2 separate regions of the Homo sapiens genome follow, and region 2 is linked to region 1. Evidence: promoter capture Hi-C in 16 types of primary human blood cells and fetal thymus (Javierre and others, 2016). All regions are on one chromosome and are shown on one strand. The core of a region is centred on a gene start or on the middle of the fragment in contact, and the rest is flanking DNA. Distances in the headings are between cores, read along the strand shown.

Region 1 (3,344 bases), core at 293-2,792:
TGGAGGCTGAGTAGGTCCTTCAACCTCAAGCCCTTTAGAAGGCCCCATCCCCTGGGGCTCCTTCAGTCTTGATGCTTTCTGCCAAGGCTTAGGCCTTGCTGCCCCCACCCCCAAAAAGGCCACGTGGAACTATACAGAGTAACAATTCCCAGCGCACTCTCTCCAGAGCCTCCTATCAGCAGACCCACGTAGGCGGCGGTATTGATGTTGAGGCAGGTCAGAGAGGGCAAAGGGGAGATAGAAGGGGAGCGTGCCTGAGTGGCTTTCAAGTGGGCGCGTGGAGCAGAGCAGCCTGGCTTTGGACAGGGGAAGAAAGGTAGGCATGGGCTTTCTTCCAGCACCCGAACTCTGGCTCTCTTTGCACTTGCTGGGCCAGCCCCTCTCCCCCTAGCCCTTCCCCTGACTCATATCTTGCCAGCGTCCCCCACCCCAACTTCCCGCAGGAGTCCTAGACTCGACTTCCCTAAGAAGTCGCCGAAACTCTCCAGTCACCCCAGGTGTTACGCCCAGGATTCTGCGGAGTCGGGCATATGGTTCCAAAATTGTATCCTCTGGGCATCTCGCGGCCTCACCCGCCGCACGGCCCGCCCTCCCGCTGGGGCCTGCACACCCCAGGAGCTCAATAATGTGGAGCGCAGGGCTTGGCCCAAAGGCGTCAAGCAAGTCTCCACTTGCACGGGCCGAGGGGGCTGGACGAAACCTTCCCGAGTCCGCGGGGAAGGGATTTCTCTGCGGGGCGTTGTATGGGGGCTTCGCACCGGGAAGGGCGCGGAACGAGCAGAGAGCTCGGAGTCTCGCTGGCTAGAAGCAGAGTGGGGAGCGCCCGCCCGGGCCGCGGCGCACGACGCGGGCTCTGCGGGCGCCCTGCCTCGTGGTCCCCCGGGCGCGAGCGAGCCGCGAGGGGAATGAGAGGCCGCGCGGGCCCCTGGCACGGCTCCCCATGCCGTGCTGGCGACCGCGGCGGGCGGGCCGGGGCGGACGGGCGCTGTTTCCACCGAGATGCCTCGTCCCTCCCTCGTTCCCTCCCCCACCCCGCCCGCCCGCAGTCCCTCCCGTCGGTCCCTCCCTCCGGCTCTTCCCTCCCTCCCGCCCTGCCTCCTTCGCGCCCGCCCCATCCGCCGCCTGCGGGGACGTGTGTGTCTCTACTGCATTTCCCCTTTCGCTCGCTCGTTTCGGTGCATGTCTGCGCCGGTTCGCGCCCCCTCCCCGGGCGCCCCTGCCGCCCCGTGTCTTGGCCCGGCCCTCCCCGGCGTCCGCCCCGCTCCCCGCGCGCTCCACCCCGCCCCCCGCCCCGTTTTATCAGGGGCGCCGCCGTCTCACCTGGTATTTGCATCTCTCCCTCCAACTTGCCATTGGCGGCGCGAAGTGTGGGAGAGCCCTGCGCCTCGCCCGCCCGGACCAGCCTGCCCCGGCGCCGAGGTGAGTCACGGGCGCGGGGTGGCGGGGGCAGGCGGGCGGGGAAGAAGGGCGGGCGGGGAGGAGGGCGGGGGACGGCGGCCCCGGCGGCCGCGGGGACCGACCGGGCGCCGCGCTCAACTTCCACTTCTCCTTTCGCCGGCGCCGAGTTCCTGGCGCCGCTCGCCCGGCCCGGCTTCCGAGGGGAGAGGACGGGCTGGCGGGGCTGGGGACCCGCGTCTCGGCCCCCGGAGCGGGGACCACGGAGACAGACCCCGGCCCGGCGACCGAGCTGGGCCCGTGAGCCACTCGGCCTCAGGTACGTCGATGGCGCCGGTTCTTCGAGCCTTGGGGGACGTGGAAAAGTTTGCTTGAGGGCGGAATCGAGAGCGCCGGGGCCCCGGCGTGGGGCTGGGGGCCCAGGGAAGGGCGGGAGAGTCGCGGAGTGTCGCGAGCCGCCCTGGAGTCGCCCCGCCGCGCGTGTGATGGAGAACCCGGGCTCCCGATCCCGGGATGGAAGTGGAATGGATTCCCCGAGTCGGGGAGTCGGGGTAGGGGCCCCTGTTTTCCCTCGCCCCCGGCAGCCTGGGTTCCGTGACGGGGCCGATCATGACAGCGGGCCCCCAGAAGCTGGGCGCCCGAGGGCAGAGGAGGTGGGGCGGACCGCGGCGGAGCTGCTAGATGGATCCGACTGCCCCCGGGGCTTCTGGGGCCAGGGCTTTAGGGTCACACGCACACACGCGCACGCAGACCTATGATGTGGAGAACTGGATCGCCAAAATAGAGACCTCTTGGCAGGGGCCGGAGTTTCCGTGTGAGCCAGCCGCCAGCCTTCCCGCTCCCGCGTTCCCGCTCTCCCCGACTCTCCCGCCTCCGGGTTCCCTCCTGGGCCGCCGCCTAGGGGATTCAGCAGCCGCACCGTGCGGGGTCCCCTCACGCCAGCGCCTTGCTTTGGAGGCTTGAGGGACTGCTGAGGCGGTGACCGCTTTATGAATTCCTGGCTCCTCCACCGCACCCTAACCCTGACTCCCTTTTCTCACCACCGTATGCCTGCACATCACCTTCCTGACCAGAGTCACCTCCTGACCCCTTGGCACCTCGGCTCAGCGAGGTCCTCCTGGGCCGCCCCCGCCCCGCACCATACCCCAGCTGAGGGATTTGATGGCCATTTGATTCCTGCCCCTCATCCCTCGGCCTGTGATAGAGGCCTGTCTGGTCCTGCAGCCTCTTCTGGTTAATGTTTGACAGTTCATTGTGGCTAATTATTTTAATTAGCTCTTAAAGTGGGAAAGAACAGTTAACCTTGGACTTCTCGATTTTGGCCTGGTGGGGCCTCAAATGGGAGGAGTGCTGGGGAGGTGGGGAGGTAGGAGCGGAAGTGAGGTCACCACCCCAGGGCCTGAACCACCACTGCTCAGCCCCAACAGCTGGTGGGCACGCCCATTGGGGACTCACCCCCTGCCAGCTGACCCCTGGCCCGAGTGCCAGGTTGGAGGTGGGTGAAGGGAACAGTTCTAGCTCTTCCCTTTGGGGAGACTTTGGCACTGAAAATGCCCGGGGAACACATATGCCCAGCAAGAATGCCAGTCCTTCCTTGCAGTTAGTTACACTGGGTTTTCCTGGTTATAAAGTGCTTTCTCAACCATTAATTCAGATTCAGTGCATCCAGTACAGGAGCAGCGTAGGGGGAGCTCTCTGGAGTTCAGTGAAGATTATCAGGGAGGACTTCCTATCCCAGCCAGCTGGTGTGAGGAAGAGGCTACCTTGCATCTGGTTGTTTTTGGGGCTGGATTCAGAGCCTGGGATCTCTTGTTGGGGGCAGGGGTGGGGGGGACCATGAAGCAGGCTCCATGCTACCACCCTCACCCAGCCTCTTGCTGTGAGCCGAAGGAGTGGCTTGTTTGCAACTATGTCTGGCATTCCTCCCTGTGCTGCACTGTTTGCTCGGT
Region 2 (3,456 bases), core at 666-3,165, 160 kb after region 1:
AGAGGTTTAAAACAGTTTGAGGCCAGGCGCGGTGGCTCACGCCTGTCATCACAACACTGGCAGGCGGAGGCGAGAGGATTGCTTGAGGCTAGGAGTTCGAGACTGCCCTGGCCAACATAGCAAGACCCTATCTAAAAAAAATGGTAACAAAACACAGCTTGGGAATGGGAGCAGGGTTGATGCTTAAGACTCAATTAAGCAACCGTGTCCCTCACCAAGTCTCTTCAGACCCCCACCCCACTAGCTGAGTGCTACTTTAGCAAGCCTCCATTATTCTCTCTGATGGCACACTGCCCTAGGGCTATTTGACTGTGTTTTCATCACCTGTGCTAGATTAGGAGTACCTCAATGATGGAGATAGGGTCTCAATATTTATCATCTCACCTCAGTGTCTACTAAAGTGCCCGGCACATAGAAGACAATAAATGTTTCTTTGTTGAATGATAGAAATTAGGAATCCAGACTTCCAGCCATTTTCTTTTCTCCTTCCTTCCTTCTTTCCTTCCTTCCTCCTCTCTTTCTTTCTTTCTTTTCCTTTTTTTCTTTCTTGTCTTTCCTTTCTTGTCTTTTTCTTTCTTTCTTTCCACAGGGTCTCTTGCTCTGTTGCTCAGGCTACAGTGCATTGGAGCGATCATGGCTTACTGCAGCCTTGACCTCCTGGGCTCAAGCGATCCCTCCACCTCAACCTCATAAGTAGCTGGGACCATAGGTGCGCGCCACCATGTCCAGCTAATTCTCAAAAACATGTTTTTTGTAGAGACAAGTTCTCTCTGTTGCCCAGGCTGGTCTCAAGCTCCTAGGCTCAAGTGATCCTCATGCCTCAGGTCTCCCAAAGTGCTGGGATTACAGGTGTGAGCCACCATGCCCGTTCATCCCTTTTTCAAGTCAAGTGCTGCCTTATCTACCCATCCACCTACACACCTGGCTTAGAAGCACCCCATTCAGGGCGAGGTCTTTCTATTGCCACCCATCCTTGGTGCTGGGCTTTGCACTTAAGAGGGGCTTTCAAAAATAGACACAAAGGGTGAGGGGCCATCTTTGGCTCGCCTGGCCAGGGACAGGATCAAGCTGCCCAGTTACAAATCTGTTATGTATATTCTGTGCCCTGGTGCCCTTCTTCCAAATCAAAATATAGCAGGCAGTGCAAACATTTATGCAAATGAGCCAGGAGCCCTCCTGCTTTCAAAAATAAATGATGGAGCCCGTATCAGTAGTTGCAGTGTGTCTTGGCAGTGTTTAGAAGGGGCCCTGTCCACCCCTTGCTAGTTCTCTTGGGAAGCCCAGCACAGTGAGAAGCAGTGTATCTTACCCCCCTCATTTCCCCCTCCCCTCCAATACTACAAACAGCCACAAACCACATGGCCCACAAGCAACTGAGATTTGTGGCCTTTGGAACCTCCCAGGGCAGGGGTCAGTCAGCAGGTCAAAGCGGGTGTAGGCATCACACAGTCCAGAGTCATTACTCTAATGCCCTCTGGGAGAGTTTCAAATCAATGGGCCTATTTGTCCTCCCTCCAGGGAGGACTGGGGGTAGGGCAGCGGGGGTCCATTATCAAGCCCATCCCCACAACACTGCCTCCAAGAAGCTCACCCTTAGCCTGGCATCCTGAAAACCTCACTGCTACCCAGAAGACAGAAACCGGAAGTGGGATGATGTCTGTGGGGATGGGCAGATAGGATGTCTCCTTTGCATTCTAGGTTAGGAATCTAGGAGTCTGGACTTTTATGTGGGAGTCTCTGTGGCATTTACAAAGCCAGCAGGGTGACTTTGGGCGCCTGTTGACCTCTCTACATTTTGGCAAATAGCCAGTTTCCAGCAAGACCATGCCCTGACCCAGTTGTCTCTGTTGCTTCTGGGAGAGTTTTAGAATCACTCTTTGTGGGAAAGAGGTTGGGTAGTATAGTGATTAGAGAGCTGGACTTGGGCATTGGCCAGACCTGGATTCCAAACCCAGCTCTGCCACTAACCAGCTGTGTGACCTCTTCAAGTTACCTTCTCTGAACCATAGTTGCCTTATCTGTTGAACGGGGATAATAATAGTACCTACCATATAAGACTGTTATTGGGATTAGTGTGCTATGTACTTGGCAGTTTGTGAGGGTTCAATAAATAGTAGTTGTGGTGGCCATTCTTACTAGGTTTGGTTGCAGGCAAGTGCTATTCTGCTGGTCCCTGTCAAGCCTGAGGCCCTTCTCGGCTCAAATCCCTCCCTAAGATACTGGAGAGATGGAATTCTTTCTGTCACCCCTCCCCTCCCAGCATTTGGGTCTTTTGTTCTGGGATTGGCCAGGGCTATGCCTAAAGTGCACCAAGTGTGGCTCTGGCCACAGGCATATCCCCTGAGGGGACTTAGCCTTGTTGACTAAAATGGTATTAAGTGGTCAGCGGGTGGCGAGGGGGAGACTCAGGGGAACAGTACCTCCGAAGACTCTAAAATGCATACACATGGTATCTAGGGCCAGGCTAGTGCCATGGCTCTAGACCCTAGCTAAGAGTGCATTTACAGAGGCTGCTTTGAGAATGTTTTGTGAATGTTTTGGCTGATTTACTGGATAACCTTCATCTTCAATGGCCTTGTTTAAATTTTACCACGGTATGGAATGGGAAGGAGCTCACTTTCCATTCCAACTTTTGGTGGCAGGAGTTGGTAGGATGGGAAGGGCAGCTCGCTAAGTGCTGGACAACATGGCCCAAAAACAATCTGGTTCAGCCAGAAGTTCACGAATACATAGGCCAGCTCTGCTTTTGCAGGGCACCTTCATCCCACTTTTGGATTCATCCTTACTGTTGAGTTTGAACTGCTAAAGGGAGAGAGACTGGGTCTCTCCTATCAGACCTGGAGCTCCCTGAGGTTGGAGATCTTGTCAACCCCACTGTACCGGGAACCTTCCGACGGCGGGGGCCGAGTCTCCTCCCTTTGGCTGGCCGTTCTCCAGCCTGGGAACCGAAAAAGCTGCCTCCGCCCCCGGAGCATGTCCCCCACCCATGCCCGGTGCATTCCTTGGTATTCGAAGCACCCGGAGGCTCAGCACCCGCGGCGGAGCGATTGGCGCCAGCGAGGCCCGGAAGGATGCTTCGGGGCCCGAACTCCCCAGACCTCCGGCTGGGCAGGGGAGGGGGAAGCTGCCGGCTGCCCGAGGAGGGAGGGGCCACGTGGTTGTGGGGAGCTGCAGAGGGGTGCCCCCGGGTCCGTCCAGGCCCTTTTGTCTGTCCCCTGCGCCGAAGCCCCCTCCCCAAAGTGGGCTGGCTGCCGGGGAGGAGGGAGGCCCCGGTGGGCGTGGGGGGGTGGTGCGGAGGGGAAGGGGAGAGTAAACGAGCACTATGGGGGCTGGGAGAGGCTGGAGGGGTGGAGGGCCAGAGGCTGCGCCAGAGAGAAGCGGCTGGAACTGCCCGAGAAGGCCAGGAGGAAAAAGCGGAGGAAGGAAACCCATCCTGCCCCCAACAAGCGAGTGTCT

The links. The method cuts DNA at HindIII sites, captures the fragments that hold promoters and counts their contacts. A CHiCAGO score of 5 or more calls a contact.
Region 2: a contact is called between a fragment that was not itself captured here and the fragment with the promoter of ELF4 in region 1, in 1 of 17 cell types (total CD8 T cells). The highest score is 5.2, in total CD8 T cells.

The regions. Positions count from the first base shown.
Region 1 is chrX:130,108,695-130,112,038 of GRCh38, reverse strand. ELF4 (E74 like ETS transcription factor 4) reads left to right here and starts at 1,542. Exons shown (of 9, transcript NM_001421.4): 1 at 1,542-1,714. It also overlaps a transcript of RAB33A not described here. RefSeq lists silencers at 811-930, 1,001-1,050, 1,061-1,110, 1,361-1,510, 1,591-1,660. The HindIII fragment of the contact is 7,600 bases long and covers 1-3,344 here.
Region 2 is chrX:129,952,937-129,956,392 of GRCh38, reverse strand. No RefSeq gene overlaps it. Among named protein-coding and RNA genes, the nearest start is that of BCORL1, 28 kb to the left of the region's middle. RefSeq lists an enhancer at 2,815-3,456. The HindIII fragment of the contact is 4,564 bases long and covers 1-3,456 here.